7 separate regions of the Homo sapiens genome follow, and regions 1, 3, 4, 5, 6 and 7 are each linked to region 2. Evidence: promoter capture Hi-C in 16 types of primary human blood cells and fetal thymus (Javierre and others, 2016). All regions are on one chromosome and are shown on one strand. The core of a region is centred on a gene start or on the middle of the fragment in contact, and the rest is flanking DNA. Distances in the headings are between cores, read along the strand shown.

Region 1 (2,700 bases), core at 134-2,633, 590 kb before region 2:
AGTCAAGATTTGGAGAAAGTCTTAAGCTGAGAGGATCTGAAAGGCTTCTTGTAGCTGGTGGCGTTTGAAATAGGTCTTGGAGGTTGAATAGAAGGTCTACAGGGCACCAGATAGGCAAGTAAGTGTGTGGGGATCTTCAGGAGAGCAGGGGGTCATGCTTGGAAGGCCTCAAGGGGTCTTGCTGGCTGGAGCAGTGAGTTCCTGTGAGAGGCTGATGGGGATGAAGCTCAAATGGTAGAAAGGCATCAGAGAGTAGGGGGGCCTTGGGTACCCCACAAAAAGCCTGGATTCTGGACTCTATCCTGAAGGCAATGGGAGGGCTGCTGCAGGATTTGAGCCCAAAGATGACATGACTTGAGTGGCATCTTAGAAAGTATCACCAAGTAACACAGACAGGATAGCTAAGAGGAGGGGTTAGGCTGTGGAAGAAGCTAACAGGGTCTCAGGCAAGACAATGTCAGGGACCATGGAAAAATAAGGAATCAATCTAAGAGACACTGTGATGGACCTGACTTGGCAATGGATTGGCCATGGCAGGTAAAGAGGAGAGAGCTGGGGACAGGAATCTTGAACACCTTTCTGAACCTCACCCTCCAAACACACAGTTCTTCCTTAATGAGCTGAGATGATGTTTCTATTAAGTATCCTCCCTCTGGCCTTGCCAAGAAATGATGAAAAATGGATTGGATCCTGAAGCTGCCTGCAGGCTGCTCTCCAGACATGATCCTGCAGGCATCCCTGGCAGACAAGGTCATTAGCCTGACAGCAGGGACATGAACATACTGCTTAGCAAGCTGTGGTTCCTGGTTGATGGATGGGTAAAATTTCAAGGAGCTGAAATGCCAAGAGAGAGGGGTTCTGGCTAATTGAATTTTCTCATAACTGCGTGCAAACCAGCAATCTTTAATTTCAACCCCGGTGCAAAACTTTTCTGGAATGTGCTCAGCTTGATAAACAACACACAGAACAGACCAAAGCTTTGGTTCTATAATCCTAGACCTGTTCTGTCCAATATGGTAGTTCATAACGACATGTGGCTGCATATACTGAAACATTCGGTATATGAATGTTTCATATACTGAATTGCACTGAGTTGCACTCGTCACACGTGGCTAAGTGGTAGTAAATAAGACAACACAGACATGGACTATTTCCAACACTGCAGAAAGTTCTACTGGACAGAGCTGTCTTAGACTGTCAGAACTAGAAGGAGCCTTCCAGATGATCTGGCTCAGCTTTCCCAGTTTTACAGAAGAGTCATCTCAGACCCAGGGAGGTGGACAGATGTGCTCACAGACACAACCAACAGGTGGAAATTGAAGCCAAGGGTTTTGACGCCAAGCCTCTTAGGTCTCTCCAAGCACTTTATGCTTTCTCCAAGCACCCTAGGTTTATTATTATTTCAGGCTAATACATATTTCCCCTCTCCTTTTCTTTCATTTCCCAAAGAAGGGAGACATTTTCTCTGAGAAGCTGAAACTTCTTCCTGGGAATATAGTTCTCTTAAAAAGCATCGCTAGCAACTACCAGACTCAGCATCTCCTCTTTCTTTGAGCACTGGGCTCAGTAAGAGCAAAGACCTTGAGCTGCAGCCCAGAGCCTCAGCAGGAATGATTGCACAGGAGTTGTGGGCCAGAAGTCCTGGACCCTGGACCCCCTGGGGACTTCCAGAGTCTCCGTTTCCCCAGTGCATATTGTTTCAGTCCAACTCGGTCCCCATTCCCACACCTGTGTGTCTCTCCCACTTGCCAAGACCTGTCTGACTCCCAAGATGACTGTTAAAGCTTTTTATATGAAACCAAGCCCCACAGCCCAGGGCCAGGAGTACCCTCCTCTGCTAGAAGTGAGGCCCATCATCTTCTGTGTCTGGATGGTACTTCAAGCCAGAGGTGTCACGAGCTACCCTCCTGCCTAGCCTGTCTCTTATTTGATGGATGAAGAAGCCGTGGGCATAGACTTTGGGAGATATTTATCCCCCACCAGCACCGGAATCTCCTGGGAACTGGACTCAGTGTACCACTCATGGAGATTCTCAGAGGAACTCTCTCCTCATATCAAAGCATTTGCATCTAATTAACTCTTTATAGGGGAAGAGTTTATAGGGAAATGTAGGCAGGACCCTGGTCAAGTCATAAAACCTCTGTCATATTTGATGTTTTGGAGAAACCCTCACAGGTATCAGGGATCCTCTCTGAGCGGGATTGGAAAAGAAAAGGGTGTGCTTTTTAAAGACACCACTTTCCCCAAGGCTATTCAAGAGTTTGGGCCTCACCCCTGCTGCTCACTGCCCTAGTGCAAAGCACCCTCTTCTGGGGGTGAGAGTGAGGGCCCATGGGCAGAACTGCCATTCAAGGAAGACTGGCCAGAGGGCGACAGCTTCCCGAAAGATCCAGGAGTTGGGTTTGGCATCTGGGAGTTGGGGCTGTGTGTGGACTCTGAATTGCACTGACTGAATCTTTCTTCACCACTATATTAGGAAACCTTTTAGAGAGTGATCAAAAAAAGAATATGCCTCTTCCAGGGTATAACCAGGAAAATCATTAATAATAAAACAATATTCTTTTTGTATTTCATAATTTTTTTTTCTTTTGGAGAGAGAGTCTCGCCCCGTAGCCCAGGCTGGAGTGCAGTGGCATGATCTTGGCTCACTGCAACCTCTGCCTCCTGGGTTCAAGTGATTCTTGTGCCTCAGCCTCCTGA
Region 2 (2,700 bases), core at 167-2,666:
TAAATTTCCTACTATAAATACATAGAGAGCTATATTTAAAAAAAAACTATAGAACTATTTTGCAATGAGACATGTAGAGAATTGGGCCATCATCTCAAAGAAAACATGTAAAAGAAAAATCCTTATTCCTTCTTATCCAATCAAAATGCTCACAATTTAAATTCCTAAGGGAATTCCACCACCCTGGAATTGTACTACTCGGTTTCCAGGTATCTACAACTCTCTCTGAAAGCAGGCTTCTTTCAAGTTAATGCATTTCCTGTAAGAACGTTAGTTCTCATGTTCAATATATAAGCCATATCAATTTCAAAGATAAATAATATACCAAACAAGAAAGTATAAGAACTTTATGTCTTAAAAATTAAAGATACTGGATATAATTCCTTGAAGCACGCTTTGCAAAGTTTTCACAACAAAGTTTAAAATATAACATTTAATTTATTCTATATTGTAAAATTTATCCTTTTTCATCATAGCAGTCAACTGAAATGGTTCACTAGCCTCTTAAACTTGGGGTTTTAATCATTTCTTAATTTGAACTGTGTTTCCACTTTCTCCTTATTGATAATGGCAACAAAATCTGAAGTGTTTACACAATCCATTCAACTAGTCAACACATTTATTGAGCAACCATTACAGGCAATATCTGTTGAAGGAATAAACATAGTAAATGCTGAGTGTAGAGCAGTGAGCAATCAGACAAGGTAAAACTGCTAAAACAACTATAATAAACTCTACTATAAACAACTGTACTCAAAAATAGTACTTTTCCAAGTTGAAGAATAAGAGGGAAAAGAAACATGCAACATCCTAAAGCCAAGGTTTTAAAATCCTTGAAAATGCAAATTCTAGTATCCATCTGGAAAATATATTTATTCTCCACCTTTCACCAGTGCATTTCACAGCTGCTTCTGAAGCTGTATTCCACTAAAAGGTATACTTGATCATGACTGGATTTTACATTGGATTGGTTTTTCCAAAGGAAACAAATGGTTTACACTGGATTTTCCAAAGGAAACAAACAGAAAAGATCAGGGAAGAACTTAAAAAAGCATAAGGTTTAGGAAGAAGTATTTAACGTATCCATTCAGCAATCGCTCATTATCTTCCTACTGTGAACAAGACGCTAGGCAGTGCTGGGAATACAGGCAACAGACTAATTTGGAGAAGAAAAATTCCTTATGACAAGCAGACTCTACTCCACCCAGCTTTCTTTTTCATATAACAAATATTTAATGGAAATGATTATTCGATTATTTCTGTATCAATGAATTTTCATTATACATAAATCATTCACTTGTTGAGCTGGCCAAAAACCTGGGGGGAGGATCCAATTTTGAGTGGAGAAAGTGAACTTTTCAACTGCGACACCCATCTTGCAGCCTATATAAGTTTAGCTTTCTGGCTTGCTGGCACAACTTCCTCTCCAGTTGTGGCCACCTTCCCCAGGCCATGGATCTCTCCAACAACACCATGTCACTCTCAGTGCGCACCCCCGGACTGTCCCGGCGGCTCTCCTCGCAGAGTGTGATAGGCAGACCCAGGGGCATGTCTGCTTCCAGTGTTGGAAGTGGTTATGGGGGAAGTGCCTTTGGCTTTGGAGCCAGCTGTGGGGGAGGCTTTTCTGCTGCTTCCATGTTTGGTTCTAGTTCCGGCTTTGGGGGTGGCTCCGGAAGTTCCATGGCAGGAGGACTGGGTGCTGGTTATGGGAGAGCCCTGGGTGGAGGTAGCTTTGGAGGGCTGGGGATGGGATTTGGGGGCAGCCCAGGAGGTGGCTCTCTAGGTATTCTCTCGGGCAATGATGGAGGCCTTCTTTCTGGATCAGAAAAAGAAACTATGCAAAATCTTAATGATAGATTAGCTTCCTACCTGGATAAGGTGCGAGCTCTAGAAGAGGCTAATACTGAGCTAGAAAATAAAATTCGAGAATGGTATGAAACACGAGGAACTGGGACTGCAGATGCTTCACAGAGCGATTACAGCAAATATTATCCACTGATTGAAGACCTCAGGAATAAGGTAAGATCTCTTTTGGAGGCGCTTTGGGAATTTTTTTTTTCCTTTTTACCATTACAATGTTTTACAGTGATAATCACCTACAACTTTGATATTTTCCAATTTAGCTGTACTTGCAGCAATTTTCTCATCCCAGGTTGTTTCACTCCACTTTATCATTTACTAAGAAATGATTGTATTTCCATTATCTTTCTGTAGGAAATCTGCATTTCTTTACTTCTCAATATTATTTTATACAGATATTGTCTTAGAAAAATGAAACTGTCTTAAACTCTAAATAAAACAGCATTTAATATCACCATTTTCACCTTTGTGTCAAAAATATATTTGTATAATACTAGTCTTTTAGGGCTTCAATCTTGTGTGTGTCCCTCTCTTTTGCCAGATCATTTCAGCCAGCATTGGAAATGCCCAGCTCCTCTTGCAGATTGACAATGCGAGACTAGCTGCTGAGGACTTCAGGATGAAGTGAGTCGAATAAACTGAAGATCATGGGCGTGTCCCACCATGTCTTCTGTCCTACTGTCCTGCCTTCATTGATATAAAATCTTCTGAAGTTCACATACTCCATATATTTACTGTTTTGGTAAATTCACATAGGGTGTTCTAGAAAGTAATTAGAATCTAATGCAATTCAGATTAAATGTCCTTAAATTATAAGTTACTTAAACCCAGGGCTATGGA
Region 3 (2,700 bases), core at 156-2,655, 760 kb before region 2:
TGTGCTTTCAGTCCAGTTCCCGTCTTTTATGGATGACTAGCCCTGACCCTCAGAGGACACTGCGTGAGGCCTGGAGGAGCCCCTCGTCCCAAATAGACTTCATTTGTCCCTTGAGGCTCAGCTCACTGCAGTTAACTAACTAATGAGTAACTCAGTTTAAGAACACACAATGCTAGTTATAATTAACACAATGCTTGTTATAATTAATTATAATAGTGATAGTCATTAAAACAAGGAACTTCTGCCCAGCACTACAAGTGACTCACAGCCATTATCTCAGCTGATACAACAGCTGGGAGAAAGATACTCTTACTTCCTTTTGACCTTTGAAGAAACGGAGGCTCAGAGAGGTTAAGGGATTTATCTATGGCTGCACAGGGACCCTCCTTCAGGTCTGTTGGACTCGTATCCACCCCACCTCTCTGCCCCCTCTCCTGCCTCTCCTTTCCAGAAGGCTCTAGGTCGCAGGGACTCCAAAGCTCAACCCAAGGATAGAGATCCAAGGTCCTGTGGGGCAGTCAGGAGGCCTTACATGCCCTGTCCTGTGTCTTCCTTCTCAGCCGAGCTCTGTGCTGCTCTGAGCTGGGGGAGCCTACTCCCCGAGAAGCAGGACACCCGGAAGGTGTTTCCCCCTGGCTTTGAGGCTGGTTATACAATTGCTTTCCTCCAGCAGATTAACATTTGCTAACGGGGCCTGGCGCAGTGACACAGCGTAGGGTTGCTTTCTGCATGCCTGTGCTGTGGGCTTGGTGGTGGGGGCAAGGCAGTGGTGGGGGCAAGGTCAGGGCAGTGAGTGAGGTCGCCCGTGGTCATCCTCCACCGTGCTGGGGGGTTGTCATCTCTCGGGGCTTAGCACTTGTTGGGGATGGGTGAATTCCAGTCCCGCGTCACGGTGTGTGTTGGGGGAGGTTGCTAATATTCACAGCCCTGTATGTTTGAGAAATGACAACATCCACCTCCACCTTCAGGGTGAGGAGCTGTTGGCCTATCTGTGTCTGTCTGTCTGTCATCTGTACCTGTCTCTCCGAGGGAAAGAAGGCAGGCCCCAGGGTCTTTCTCCAGGATGGCCTTGGGTGAGCTTCTGCTGTCCTCTCTGCCCAGGAAATGAACGTCCTTTGAGGTCAGGTGGATGAGGATGTCAGTGTGAAGATGGACACTGTGCCTGGAGTGAACCTGAGCTGCATCCTGAATGAGATGCGTGACCAGGACAAGACATTGGTGGAGAAGAGCTGCAAGGATGCCGAGGGCTGGTTCTTCAGCATGGTGGGTGGCCGTGCGTAAGCAGGTGTGTACACGTGTGGGCACATGTGCTGCATGCTGGTGCAGCTGGAGCACTGGCAGATCCACAGGCTGTCCCAGTTGGAAGGACTTTTGGAAACCAGTTGGACCAGCCCCTCATGTTTTAGATGTAAAACGTGAGGCTCAGAGAGGACTCAAGCTCACACAGCCCTTCACTGTGGCCTGCAAAATAGATCCAGGTCTCTACAAGTCTGGTCTTGGGTTTCCACCACAGCTGTTTACAGGATGTGCGTATTTGAATACATATGTATACCCTTGGCAAGCACAGGCTGAGTATCTCCGGTATCCTAGGGACAGCAACAGGCGCAAAAGAATAACACCCAGTGCCTGTCTTTGAGGTGCTGCAGTTCAGTAGGAAAAAGAAATGCAAATGACCGCAGAGCAGGCTGAATTCCTCCAAGTTCCAATGTGGGTGCAGAGGCTCTCTGTGTGCAGGTGCCTTTGGGGCCCCATAGAGGCCAGGGAGGGGCTAGGGGATGGTTCTGGGAGGTGAGGGTTCAGGAGCAGCCCTTTCCTGTGCCCCGCTTCTGAAAGTCTCCATAAACCCCTGTGGCCCACTCTGCCTTCCAGAAAGAGGGGCTGAACTGCGAGGTGGCCACCAACACAGAGGCCCTGCAGAGTGGCTGGATAGAGATATGGAGCTCTACGTCTCTGTGCAGAACCTGAGCCGTCCCAGCTCAGCAAGGTAGGGTCTCTGTCCCCTCCCCACCCTGTACCTGTCACCCCAGGGTGAGCCCAGCCTTGTAGACCCCTGCTTGGGGAACCAGAGTCCCCACCCAGCCTGTCCCTTCACACTCAGTGGCTGGGTGCACTACCACCTCATTGTGCTGGCAGCACCCACAGCCCCATACAGGAGGGGCTCCTCTCTAGTGCTCTGCCATGGGGAAGGGTCCCAGGTCCAGCTCATCACACCACCTATCTCTTGGCCCACAGAAAGCATCGCTGGAGGGCAGCCTGGTGGAGATGGAGGTGTGTTACAGGACCCTGCCGGCCCAGCTGCAGGGGCTTAACAGAAGCATGGAGCAGCAGCTGTGCGAGCTCTGCTGCGACACGGAGCACCAGGACCACAAGCACAGGTCCTTCTGGACGTGAAGACGTGGCTGGAGCAGGAGATCGCCACCTACCGCCGCTTGCTGGAGGTTGAGGACGCCCAGTGAGTGTGTACCAGGGTGCCTGTTGGGGTGGGCTGGGGGCCCGCTTCACCCAGGGAGAAGTTGGTGTCTGAGCACCAGCGAAATTCAGGAGGTGTGAATGTCGGAACCTGTTGGGGTTTGCAGGAGGTGATACTGACGATGCAGGCTGGAGTCTGGCTGAGGAGCCTTGAATGCCAAGTTAAAGCGTCTGGACTAGATCACGTAGGCAATGGGGAGCCATGGAGGGATTTGGAGCAGGAGAGTGAAA
Region 4 (2,700 bases), core at 73-2,572, 690 kb before region 2:
ATATGCAACTGTTTACTCTTCTCTGGTTCTTTTTCTGCTACCTGCTGTCTTCCTCATCTACCATTTTACATATCTTTTTATTTATTTTATTTATTATTATTATTATTTTTTGAGACGGAGTCTCACTCTGTCGTCCAGGCTGAAATGCAGTGGCACGATCTCAGCTCAATCCAACCTCTACCTCCCGGGTTCAAGCGATTTTCTGCCTCAGTCTCCTGAGTAGCTGGAACTACAGGCACCTGCCACCACGCTGAGCTAATTTTTGTATTTTTAGTAAAGACGGGGGTTTCACCATGTTGGCCAGACTGGTCTTGAACTCTTGATCTCAGGTGATCCACTTGCCTCGGCCTCCCAAAGTGCTGGGATTACAGGTGTGAGCCACAAGGCCTGGCCCATTTTATGTATCTTTTCTCTACCTCAATTTGGGAAATTCTCCACCTTAAGTGTGAAGCTCCCCAAGGGAGAGGTCAGAAACTTGCTTTTCCGAGCTCACCTGCATCTAGGGCATGGGCCCCTGACAGCCCTGCCACTCAGGTGCGCCCGCACAAGACGTTTTTTTTTTTTTTTTAACCATGGCACCCCATTGGAGTGAAGGACTTTGATTTTGATTTAAAGGAGGTGCTGAGTGGAATTTTTTATGGCAGGAACAAGGTTGGGCAGAGATATGTGATTTTTTGAGGAAGCAATAGCAGCGGCTCTGGCAAAGACATGCAGTGCCCATCATCCATAGTTTGAGCTTCAATTTTGGTGGCCAGAAGTGACAGCAGTGGTGTGTTCCTAGAGCAATCCTTGAGTGTGATTTGGGGAATTTTTCTGTTTGCATACCCTCCAAGTTTGATTCTCTGCACATCCTGGAAAAGATGCCCAGTAGTTGCTCATTATTTCACAGGGAATACATTCAAAGATCCTGACTGGATGCCCAAAACTGTGGATAGCACCTAAATCTATCTACACTATGCTTTTTCCTACACATTCATACTTAAGATACAGTTTACTTTATAAATTAGGCAGACCAAGAGATTAACAACAATAACTAATAAAATAGAATCGTTATAACAATATACTGTAATAAAAATTATTTGAATGTGGTCTCTCTCTTTCAAAATATCTTATCATACTGTAGATCTTAGCAACCTCAGCGTATGGTTTTTTTCTTTCCGTAGTAAGTTTTGAACTGTCATCTTTTCTCTTAAAGAAAGCATTTTGCTGGCTGGGCGCGGTGGCTCATGCCTGTGATCCCAGCACTTTGGGAGGCCAAGGCTGGAGGATCACCTGAGGTCAGGAGTTTGAGACCAGCCTGACCAGTATGGAGAAACACTGTCTCTTCCAAAAATACAAAATTAGCCAGGCATGGTGGCGCATGCCTGTAATCTCAGGTACTTGGGAGGCTGAGGCAGGAGAATCGCTTGAACCCGGGAGGCAGAGGTTGAGGTAAACCGAGATCACGCCATTGTGCTCCAGCCTGGGAAACAAGAGCAAAACTCCTTTTAAGAAAAAAAAAAAAGCACTTTGTGGCTTCCCTTTGGCAAATCTGAATTATCAGCATCACTGCTCTTGCACTTTGGGGTCGTAATTAAGTAAAATAAGGGAACACAAGCACGGCAATACTGCAACAGTTGATCTGACAACTGAGACAGCTACTAAGCGACGACTAGTGGGTGGGTGGTGCATAGAGCATGGAGAGCTGGACAAAGGGATGATTCCTGTCCTGGGCTGGACAGAGTGGGGCAGTGTGAGATTTCATCATGCTCTTCAGGGCAGCACACTTCAAAACTGACAAATTGTTTATTTCTGGAATTTTCCATTTAATATTTTTGGATGACAGTTGACCACAGGTAACTGAAGCTGTGGAAAGCGAAACCATGGATAAGGGGAATGACCGTGTTGCTTTCTCTGCAGGTGAAAGCATATTTATTCTGGTACTCTTTGTTTATTGGGATAAAGAAAAAAGAATTTCCCACAGCAGGTGCCAGGGTCAATGGTGATCTGCTTTAGAAAAGGGACACAATCTGGATCAACGACTGCTGTTGGAACAACCATGTGATAAATTGTAAAATAATTCATGGCTATTCTCTAACATCTGTTCATGTTCTGCACAGAAAAACTAGGCAAGTTAACCCTAAATTTATCATTTTTTTTTTGAGACAGGGTCTCTCTCTGTTGCCCAGGCCGGTGGGCAGTGGTACAATCACAGTTCACTGAAGCCTTGACCTCCCAGGTTCAAGCAATCCTCCTACCTCAGGCTCCCAAGTAGCTGGGACTACAAGCGTGTGCCACCACGCCAGACTAATTTTTGAGGTTTTTTTTTTTTTTTTTTTTTTTTTTAAACTAGAGACAGGGATCTCACTCTATTGCCAGGGCTGATCTTACATTCCTGTGTTCTCTCCCCATCTTGCCCTTCCAAAGTGCAGGGATTACAGGCATGAGCCACCACTCCTGGCCCATCAAATCTTTCATGTGGCACTAATCTCTGTCATTCCCTTAGAGATGTAGTGTTGCTGGTCCTTTTTCTAAACCACGTAATCCTTACTGGTAAGGATCAGGATCCTTTTACTGACTATGTCTAGTCCACTCCAGACACTGGGAAATAACCACAGGATTGGTCTGGGATACCACTGGGCTCATGAGAAGCAAACTTGGGCTAAAACTCCATTTGTCATCTGATCTCTATATTGGTTAGATTCTCAATTGCAACTACCA
Region 5 (2,700 bases), core at 39-2,538, 540 kb before region 2:
TTTCATGAAAACCATGCAAAAACCGTGCTGAGTTTATGAAAGTTGCAGTATACTGAAACTTCTGGTGCAGTAAACAGGGCAAAAGGAATATTTCCTAACATCCTTGCCAAGGCAGTGTCTATCCACACAACAGCATCAACCTCTTATGCATATCTATTGTCACCTTTGATTATCCAGTTAAAGCTTCTGAAGAGCCTACATCTTAGTTTTGGAGACAAGAAGACAAGGAATGTCAAAATAGGGGTTACAGAAACCTGGCTAGATTCAGAGAAGACCTGTGGGGAGGTTGGACAACCAGAGGAAAGATCTTCTTTAGAACAGATCCTACTTTATCTAAAACATTCATAGCCAGTCCTCTGTTCTGTGGCCTAGTTTTTTTTTTTTTTTTTTTGAGACAAAGTCTCGCTCTGTCACCCAGGCTGGAGTGCAGTGGTGCAATCTCAGCTCACTGCAAACTCTGCCTCCCAGGTTCAAGTGATTCTCATGTCTCAGCTTCCTGAGTAGCTGGGATTACAAGTGTGCGCCACCACTCCTAGCTAACTTTTATATTTTTAGTAGAGATGGTGTTTCACCATGTTGCCCAGGCTGGTCTTGAACTCCTGACCTCAGGTGATCCATCTGCCTTGGTCTCCCAAAGTGCGGGGATTACAGGCATGAGCCACTGCGTCCGGCCAGATCTTCTTATTTATATTGGGCTAAGCATCATATCTGGCAAAATGAAAGCAAGTCTTTGTTATATGTTCAGTTTGCTACTGTCTTCCATCTCCTGGTTCCTTTGACTCTATGTCTTCATCCTTTTCCAAGAAGTCTCTTGCACATCTTCCTTCCCACACCACAAAAGCATCTCTTGCACGTTTGGGAGTTTGTGTTGTCCAGGCGGATGCTGTAGGTTCAACTTCAGCCAATAAAACTTCCTCTCACCTGAGGCTATAGGTGTCTCTGGGATCAGTAAGTCACTTACTGAGCCTACTTTCTTACCCCAGATTCTGTGCACCAAATCGGAGAACAATAGGCTGGTTGTGCAAATAGACAATGCCAAATTGGCTGCAGATGACTTCAGGACCAAGTGAGTTGGGGTTGGACAGGGATGGGAAGGAGCCAAGTGAGAGTTGGGGTTGGATGGGGATGGGACAATGCCAAGTTGGCTGCTTCTGTCTCATGTGGCATCGGATGTCATTGACCCAGACCCCAACCCAGTAGTTATAGCAGAAGAGAACAAAGGGCATTAAGCTCAAGATCCTGAAAAACTATCCGCTCTCCAGTGGTTTAGCATTAACAGTTTACAACATGTGCTAGAATGCATCATCCACCTGGTAAGCAACTTGTGAAGCAGGCGGGCAGGGATAGAATCTCCTCCACAGGTGGGGACCCTGAGGCTTGGGGTGCTGGTGTGACTTGCCAGAAGCCATGTGGGTACCGAGTGGCAGAGCTGGGACTTGGCCTTAAATTTTGTACCAAATTTTCCTTTCTTGAAGCAATTTCCTGTGAAACTGTTGCCTTAATAAGGATATGTTTCTGTGCTGCAGCTTGATTAATTTGTGAGTGCTGATAATTCATAGCAGAAATCATGCTCCATAGCCTAAGATGAAAACATGTGAAAGTCAAAGGGTTGACACCACCTGAGGAGGGTCTACCCTGGGTGCTGGAAGGGCATTGTGTTTTATCATCTTTCTTCGGGGCACTGTGCAAGTCTCACTCTTCTAGAGCTAAAGAAAGCCATTTCCTTCCTCTCATGCTGGCAATGTGGCTTTTACTCTAATAGGGAATCCAGGGTCCCTTTGGGTATGGGGCTTGTAGAGAGGGGCCTGCAGTGATTGCACTGTGTTGCAAATGCCTGGTTACTTTGCCACCTCCCTTTTGGGCCATTGTGTGTAAAGGCAGGTGCTGGCTGTGTGTCCATCACAGTATCCTCAGTACCAGCTGCTCCCCTTGGTTCATCTCAGGTGCTTAGTATTGACTGAGTGGGGAACATCCTGTTGCTTTCTGGGCTTTGAGCACACTACACAGGATAAGCCAACTCACAATTAGATGGCAAAGGGCAGGCCAGTGGACTTACAGCTGCGAGCTGGGAGTCATGTCCTGGTGCCCCTTCCTGCCCTCTAACTGTCACTCCTGCACTTTCCCTGTTACAGGTACGAGAGAGAGCGCTCGCTGCAACAGCTGGTGGAGGCTGACATCTGTGGCCTGCGCAGGGTGCTAGACAACCTCACCCTCGCCAAGTGTGACCTGGAGGCCCAGCTGGAGTCCCTGAAGGAGGAGCTGCTTTGCCTCAAGAAGAACCATGAGCAGGTGTGTGACCCTTGGTGTGATGCATTGAGACTTTCTGGAGGTGAATTCAGGCTCATCTGGGGGGAAAAAACGGAGGCTTCCTTCTGCTTGGGATTGAAGCTTTGCAGGTGAGCTCTGGCTTTTGGTGGGAGATTGCTTCTCATCCACAGCTTCTGGAAGCTGCTAGGCTGGTGCAGGCAGCGGTTTATCTTCAGAGGAGCACAGGGAAATTACTGGGGAGGATGGAAAGTGGGAGTTGAGAGTTTGGGTGAAGGGCAGTTGGGGGCCCTGCAGGCGGGTCATACTCCTCTGATGCCTACAGGAAGCCCACACTCTAAGGGGTCAGCTGGGAGACAAGCTCCGGATAGAGCTGGACATTGAGCCCACCATTGACCTGAGTAGAGTTCTGGGGGAGACGTGAGGCCAGTACGA
Region 6 (2,700 bases), core at 199-2,698, 860 kb before region 2:
TGCCTCTTTAAGGAGCCGCAGGACATGAAAGATGACCTTGTGACACTCATGCACAGCAGCCATTGCACGTGCATCAGCTCCCATCAGCCTCATTCCGTGGCAGGTGATGTGTCCCCATTGGTTAGGTGAGGAGGGTGAGGCTCAGAGAGCTAAGGACACTTGTTTGGGGCCACACAGCCGGGGTAGATCTGAGCCCGTCCTCTCTACTCCTGTGCTGTAGCACCTTCACTGGCCCATCCCTCCCCTCTAGTGCTGTCCTGGTACCCGTCCCAGCCTGTCCCCATTCTCATGGCCCTTTGGTCACTGCCGGGTGGAATAGCACTGGCTTCAGCAGGCGTGTCATGTAAGCTTGTGCAGGTTATAAACTGAACCATGACCTTTATGGCGCATGCAGGGGGCAACCTGCATAATTATCAATGGCGACTTTCCGTGTCCTTCTGATACAGTTGATCAGACCCCTGCCCACCGCCCAGGCCAGGCCTGTGGTCATCAATGCCCCAGTTCACATCCACCTGCTTCTCTTCCAGGCTTTGCTGTTCCCCAGCAGCCTGCAGAGGCCCCACAGACAGCTTGAGGCCCCTCCTTCTGCTGCCTGGCCAAGCCCCACACCCGCAGACCCTCCTTCCCATCCTCTGAAATGGGACCCTGTGTCTGTCACCAGCCCACCCTCTGTGTTCATGAACCTGGGCTGGAGCTTGGGGACCCCTCCCTGCCCCTGGCTTCCTCTTCCATGTTCTGCCCTTTCCCACATGTTGGAGGCTTTTCCAACGTCTTCAGGGACAGGCGGTAGGAACCCCGGCCCTCGCTCTGCAGCTGGTGCAAAAGCTGTGGCTGCCAGGTCTGGGCCACATGGCAGCCCAGGGGGCAGGAGAAGCCCGGGAGAGGCCCACTGGCTACCAGACTCAGCCCTGAGCAGGGAACAGGGCCCAGCTTCCACCGGCAGGGAGTTGTGAGCGCCTTCCCAACAATGTGCCCCTCACCCCTTGATGCCCATGCTAATGGTAGCCACCCTGGTTCTTGTTGACTTGAGGGACCTGGCTGTCTTCCCTGTTCTTCATCCTTTCTTCTCAGTCCCTACCTACTGTTTGTAACCACAAGTGTCTCTGTGTGTGGGTGGGTGAGGGCCCCTCTGCCCAGTGGTGTGTCTCCTCTCCCTCCCTCCCTCTTCTGCCAGTGGCCTGGGGGTGTCCAGGCTCCCATCCGTGGCCCAGCCCCTCTCCCCTCTGTCTTGATCCCCCCCTCCCTGCCCCTGGCTTCCTCTTCCATGTTCTGCCCTTTCCCACACCTTTGTTCCTCAATAGCTGGGGGCTGGGACTGAGGCCTCCTGCAGGTACCTGCCCCCCTTCACACAGCACCTCTCAATCTCCTATTGCTTGTCAGCCTGTGTGCGTGTGGTGCAGGAAATAAAGGATCTATACCCTCCTGGCCCAGCCTCCAGCTGTCTCTCTAGGGAGTGTGTGTGTGCACTTGGCAGGGCGAAGTTGTAGAGAAAGGGTGGATGCTAATATTGAAGTATGTGCCGAGGACTCCTATTAAATACGCCGTTTAATCATAGCAGCAGCTCCTAGAGGGCGGTGGGTGATGTCATAAGTGTCTGTTGGATGGAGAAACTCAGGCCAGAGTAGGTTAAGTGATGCCCTCACCAGCAGATCATGGCTAGTGTGGAGCTGGGATTTGAGCTCATGCTTCCCTGATCCTTTCACCCCAGAGACTGACTCAGTGGCCTGGCTGTGAAAGATAGGATGGGAGAGAGTCACCCACTGTCTTAGGGTGAAGTCCCCAGAGCAGACCTGGAACAGGGTTTAGGAACAAGTATAGTCGCCCTCCGTATCCTCAGGCTCTGCATCCGTGGAGTCAACTAACCACAGATAGAAAATATTTGGGGGAGGCTGGGTGCAGTGGCTCATGCCTGTAATCCTAGCACTTTGGGAGGCCGAGGTGGGTGGATCATTTGAGGTCAGGAGTTCGAGACCAGCCTGGCCAACATGGTGAAACCCCGTCTCCACTAAAAATACAAAAATTAGCTGGGCGTGGTGGTGGGTGCCTGTAATCCCAGCTACTTGGGAGGCTGAGGCAGGAGGATCACTTGAACCCAGGAGGCAGAGGTTGCAGTGAGCGGAGATCATGCCACTGCACTCCAGTCTGGGCAACAACAGCGAGACTCCATTTGAAAACACAAGAAAATATCTGGGGGAGGCCAGGCGCGGTGGCTCATGCCTGTAATCCCAGCACTTTGGGAGGCTGAGGTGGGTGGATCACTTGAGGTCAGGAGTTCGAGACCAGCCTGGTCAACATGGTGAAACCCCGTCTCTACTAAAAATACAAAAAAAATTAGCTGGGCATGGTGGCAGCCCCTGTAATCCCAGCTACTTGGGAGGCTGAGGTGAGAGGATCACTTGAGCTTGGAAGGTTGAGGTTGCAGTGAGCTGAGGTTGCACCACTGTACTCCAACCTGGGTGACAGAGTAAGACCCTGTCTCAAAAAAAGAGAAAAGAAAATGACAGACAAACCAGACATGGGGGAAATTGCCAGCTTTGATAAAGCTTTGAAGGAAACGGAGATGCAGGAGAACACCTTGTGGACCAGAGACCACTGAGCAGGAGAAGCAGTGAAATTTCCTAAAATCTGGAGGATTCCCTGCCCCTGTTATCTTCAAGTCCCCAGTGGTGATGTGGAAGAAAAGCAACCTGCAAGGTGGAT
Region 7 (2,700 bases), core at 152-2,651, 610 kb before region 2:
CTGCGCTGCCAACTTGGTGACCGCCTCAATGTTGAGGTGGACGCTGCCCCACCTGTTGACCTGAACCGAGTTCTGGAGGAGATGAGGTGCCAGTATGAAACCCTGGTGGAGAATAACCGCCGGGATGCTGAAGACTGGTTGGACACCCAGGTAGGTACCTGGAAACAGTCAGTGCAACAGGGGTATGTGGTGGCTCACATGGAAGTGACCCTGGGGCTCTGAATCAAGAAATCTAACTTTGAGTCCCATCTCTGTTTTGACCTTGCTGACAAGGTCAAAACAGACCCACTTCAATTGACCTTGCTGACAAGGTCAAAACAGACCCACTTGGGCAGGTTGCTGTCCTCTGAGCAACAATGCCCTCCAGTATAAAATAAATGAGTGGGACTGGGGAATCGGGAATGTCTTTCTTGGCTCATGATTCTAACCGGCCTCTGTAGCTCTCTGAAGCCAAGTCCCTGGTGTGGCTGACCAGGTTCTGTGTGTGTATGTTTCAGAGTGAGGAGCTGAACCAGCAGGTGGTGTCCAGCTCAGAGCAGTTGCAGTCCTGCCAGGCAGAGATCATCGAGCTGAGACGCACGGTCAACGCCCTGGAGATTGAGCTGCAGGCTCAGCACAGCATGGTGAGCCCCAAGGCAGGGTGGAGCTGCCTCTGGACCAAGCCGAGGAGCACACAAGCTCCCCAGCTTCCATGCTTTGACCACACAGGCGGACTCCAGGGGTCCATGTTCTTGAGCACCAGGGGTTCTCTATGCAGAAAAGAGGGAATGAGGGACCAGCTCCAGTCACAAATCCCCCAGTGGTAAAGGACAAGAGACCTGTAGCAACTGACATGTCCAGGCAGTAGGTCCTATATTTGTGCAAGCAGATACATCTTCTGAGTAACTATCAGTTACTCAGAGATGACACTAACAGGGAGATACTTTCTAGATCAAAGAAGCCACAGGGGCTAATTAGCTCATCTCAAGTGAGATGTCTGATTGTGGTTCATCCTAGCTCAAACTCTGATTCTCCGAGCTTCTGTTCTTGGATTCTGAGGCCTCACTGAGACCCAGATTCCTTCCTTGCTCCTTCTCTGACCTCTAGCCTTTTTCCTCCCTACACAACTCTTGACCTCACAGAGAGATGCTTTGGAATCCACCCTGGCAGAGACGGAGGCCCGCTATAGCTCCAAGGAAGATTCCTTCCTTGCTCCTTCTCTGACCTCTAGCCTTTTTCCTCCCTACACAACTCTTGCCCTCACAGAGAGATGCTTTGGAATCCACCCTGGCAGAGACGGAGGCCCGCTATAGCTCCCAGCTGGCCCAGATGCAGTGCATGATCACCAACGTGGAGGCCCAGCTGGCCGAGATCCGGGCTGACCTGGAGCGGCAGAACCAGGAGTACCAGGTGCTGCTGGACGTCCGGGCCCGGCTGGAGTGTGAGATCAACACGTACCGGGGCCTGCTGGAGAGTGAGGACAGCAAGTGAGTATCACTGCATGTGCTCTTGTCTTCTCACTGCAATCTACCAAGTTCTGGGAAGACAGCATGGTGCCTAGAAAGAGCCTGGCATTCGGAGTCTGGAGTTCTGTTCTCTTAGTTCTGGTCTTCCTGAAAACTCATCACGTGACTCCAGCAAGCCCCCTTTCCTCTCAGGGCCTGTTTCCCTTTTGGTAAAACAAGGGGGCAGGATCAAGGTGGTTTTTAGGGTGCTTCCCAGTTTGCATAGTCTAGGATCTACTTTGAGTTACTGCAAACAGCAACTGGAAAATCACAGTAATTTGTTTTCTTTTTTCTAGGCTCCCCTGTAACCCATGTGCACCTGACTACTCACCCTCCAAGTCATGCCTTCCCTGTCTTCCTGCGGCCTCCTGCGGTCCTAGTGCAGCCCGCACAAACTGCAGCCCCCGCCCCATTTGTGTGCCCTGCCCAGGGGGTCGGTTCTGAGAGCGGGTGACCCAGATGGCCATGGCTATTGTCTCCAGGGCTTGAACTTGGCCTCTACCCAAACTTAACCCTTGTAGCCCAATCCCCTCTCTTCGCGCAGAGCCCAGGCCCAGGGTCTGGCTGAAAAGGCTTTCTGCAAATACATGCCCTAAAGTTTCTCAGAGCCTGTCACAAAGGCCGGCTGCCCCCAAAGGTCTCAACTCCTCATCATTTCAATGGGTGCCAGGGTCTCTGTTCTCAGGCTGCCTCCTGGGTCAGGTTTTCCTTCTAGGTGCTGTTCCGGTGGATTCTGAAATGCAGTAGAGGGCTTTTGTTGGCAGAACAATAAAGTGCATTTGCTCAGGCCCCTGATGCCTAACTTGCACCATTCTGGTGTTGTTGGCTTGTGTCTCTGCTGTGTCCAGGGGGTGACTGTTGGGCAGCCGAATGGGAGATGTGTGACCAAGTATGACCCTTTGGATGACAGGGTCACTATGCCCCTGTTTGGGGTGGGTAGAGGCCTACAGTGAGAGCTTTTGCTTGGCTTCCCTGATGAAGACCTTTCTCCAAGATTCCAGTGTGGTGCCAGGTGTTTTCAGACTGCTGTGGAATCCCTCTTAGTATACGTGGTCACCTGGGGATCCCAGAGTGGGAGGGACAAAACTGAGATGGAAACTGAGATCAGCATAACAGGGAGGGTTTTAGGCCACTTTATCAGCCTCTTGTCTGTGGTCCTTGTAAGACCGGCGATAGGGTGTCTCCCTCCCAGGGTACTTTTAGGGGTGCATTTACA

The links. The method cuts DNA at HindIII sites, captures the fragments that hold promoters and counts their contacts. A CHiCAGO score of 5 or more calls a contact.
Region 1: a contact is called between a fragment that was not itself captured here and the fragment with the promoter of KRT12 in region 2, in 1 of 17 cell types (M1 macrophages). The highest score is 5.1, in M1 macrophages.
Region 3: a fragment that was not itself captured here is called in contact with the fragment with the promoter of KRT12 in region 2 in 6 of 17 cell types (total CD4 T cells, naive B cells, naive CD8 T cells and 3 more); the score reaches 7.7 in total CD4 T cells.
Region 4: a contact is called between a fragment that was not itself captured here and the fragment with the promoter of KRT12 in region 2, in 6 of 17 cell types (total CD4 T cells, non-activated CD4 T cells, naive CD8 T cells and 3 more). The highest score is 11.3, in total CD4 T cells.
Region 5: a fragment that was not itself captured here is called in contact with the fragment with the promoter of KRT12 in region 2 in 2 of 17 cell types (M0 macrophages and endothelial precursors); the score reaches 7.1 in M0 macrophages.
Region 6: a fragment that was not itself captured here is called in contact with the fragment with the promoter of KRT12 in region 2 in 1 of 17 cell types (non-activated CD4 T cells); the score reaches 5.4 in non-activated CD4 T cells.
Region 7: a contact is called between a fragment that was not itself captured here and the fragment with the promoter of KRT12 in region 2, in 3 of 17 cell types (M2 macrophages, M1 macrophages and M0 macrophages). The highest score is 8.7, in M2 macrophages.

Annotation. Positions count from the first base shown.
Region 1 is chr17:41,456,066-41,458,765 of GRCh38, reverse strand. No RefSeq gene overlaps it. Among named protein-coding and RNA genes, the nearest start is that of KRT32, 10 kb to the left of the region's middle. The HindIII fragment of the contact is 807 bases long and covers 980-1,786 here.
Region 2 is chr17:40,865,939-40,868,638 of GRCh38, reverse strand. KRT12 (keratin 12) reads left to right here and starts at 1,416. Exons shown (of 8, transcript NM_000223.4): 1 at 1,416-2,019; 2 at 2,402-2,484. The coding sequence starts at 1,453. The region is part of intron 1 of LOC105371777 (a long non-coding RNA gene); the gene reads right to left. The HindIII fragment of the contact is 7,860 bases long and covers 1-2,700 here.
Region 3 is chr17:41,627,639-41,630,338 of GRCh38, reverse strand. It overlaps the pseudogene KRT42P. Among named protein-coding and RNA genes, the nearest start is that of KRT17, 4.4 kb to the right of the region's middle. The HindIII fragment of the contact is 5,188 bases long and covers 1-2,700 here.
Region 4 is chr17:41,560,738-41,563,437 of GRCh38, reverse strand. No RefSeq gene overlaps it. Among named protein-coding and RNA genes, the nearest start is that of LINC00974, 7.6 kb to the right of the region's middle. The HindIII fragment of the contact is 7,476 bases long and covers 1-2,700 here.
Region 5 is chr17:41,408,222-41,410,921 of GRCh38, reverse strand. LOC100505782 (a long non-coding RNA gene) reads right to left here. Exons shown (of 3, transcript NR_040111.1): 2 at 605-2,501. It also overlaps the pseudogene KRT41P. Among named protein-coding and RNA genes, the nearest start is that of KRT31, 12 kb to the right of the region's middle. The HindIII fragment of the contact is 2,205 bases long and covers 186-2,390 here.
Region 6 is chr17:41,721,365-41,724,064 of GRCh38, reverse strand. It overlaps HAP1 (huntingtin associated protein 1), which reads left to right. Exons shown (of 11, transcript NM_177977.3): 11 at 1-1,425. Among named protein-coding and RNA genes, the nearest start is that of GAST, 10 kb to the right of the region's middle. The HindIII fragment of the contact is 2,195 bases long and covers 351-2,545 here.
Region 7 is chr17:41,476,284-41,478,983 of GRCh38, reverse strand. KRT35 (keratin 35) reads left to right here. Exons shown (of 7, transcript NM_002280.6): 4 at 1-150; 5 at 498-623; 6 at 1,246-1,466; 7 at 1,781-2,274. The coding sequence ends at 1,928. Among named protein-coding and RNA genes, the nearest start is that of KRT35, 3.5 kb to the left of the region's middle. The HindIII fragment of the contact is 6,798 bases long and covers 1-2,700 here.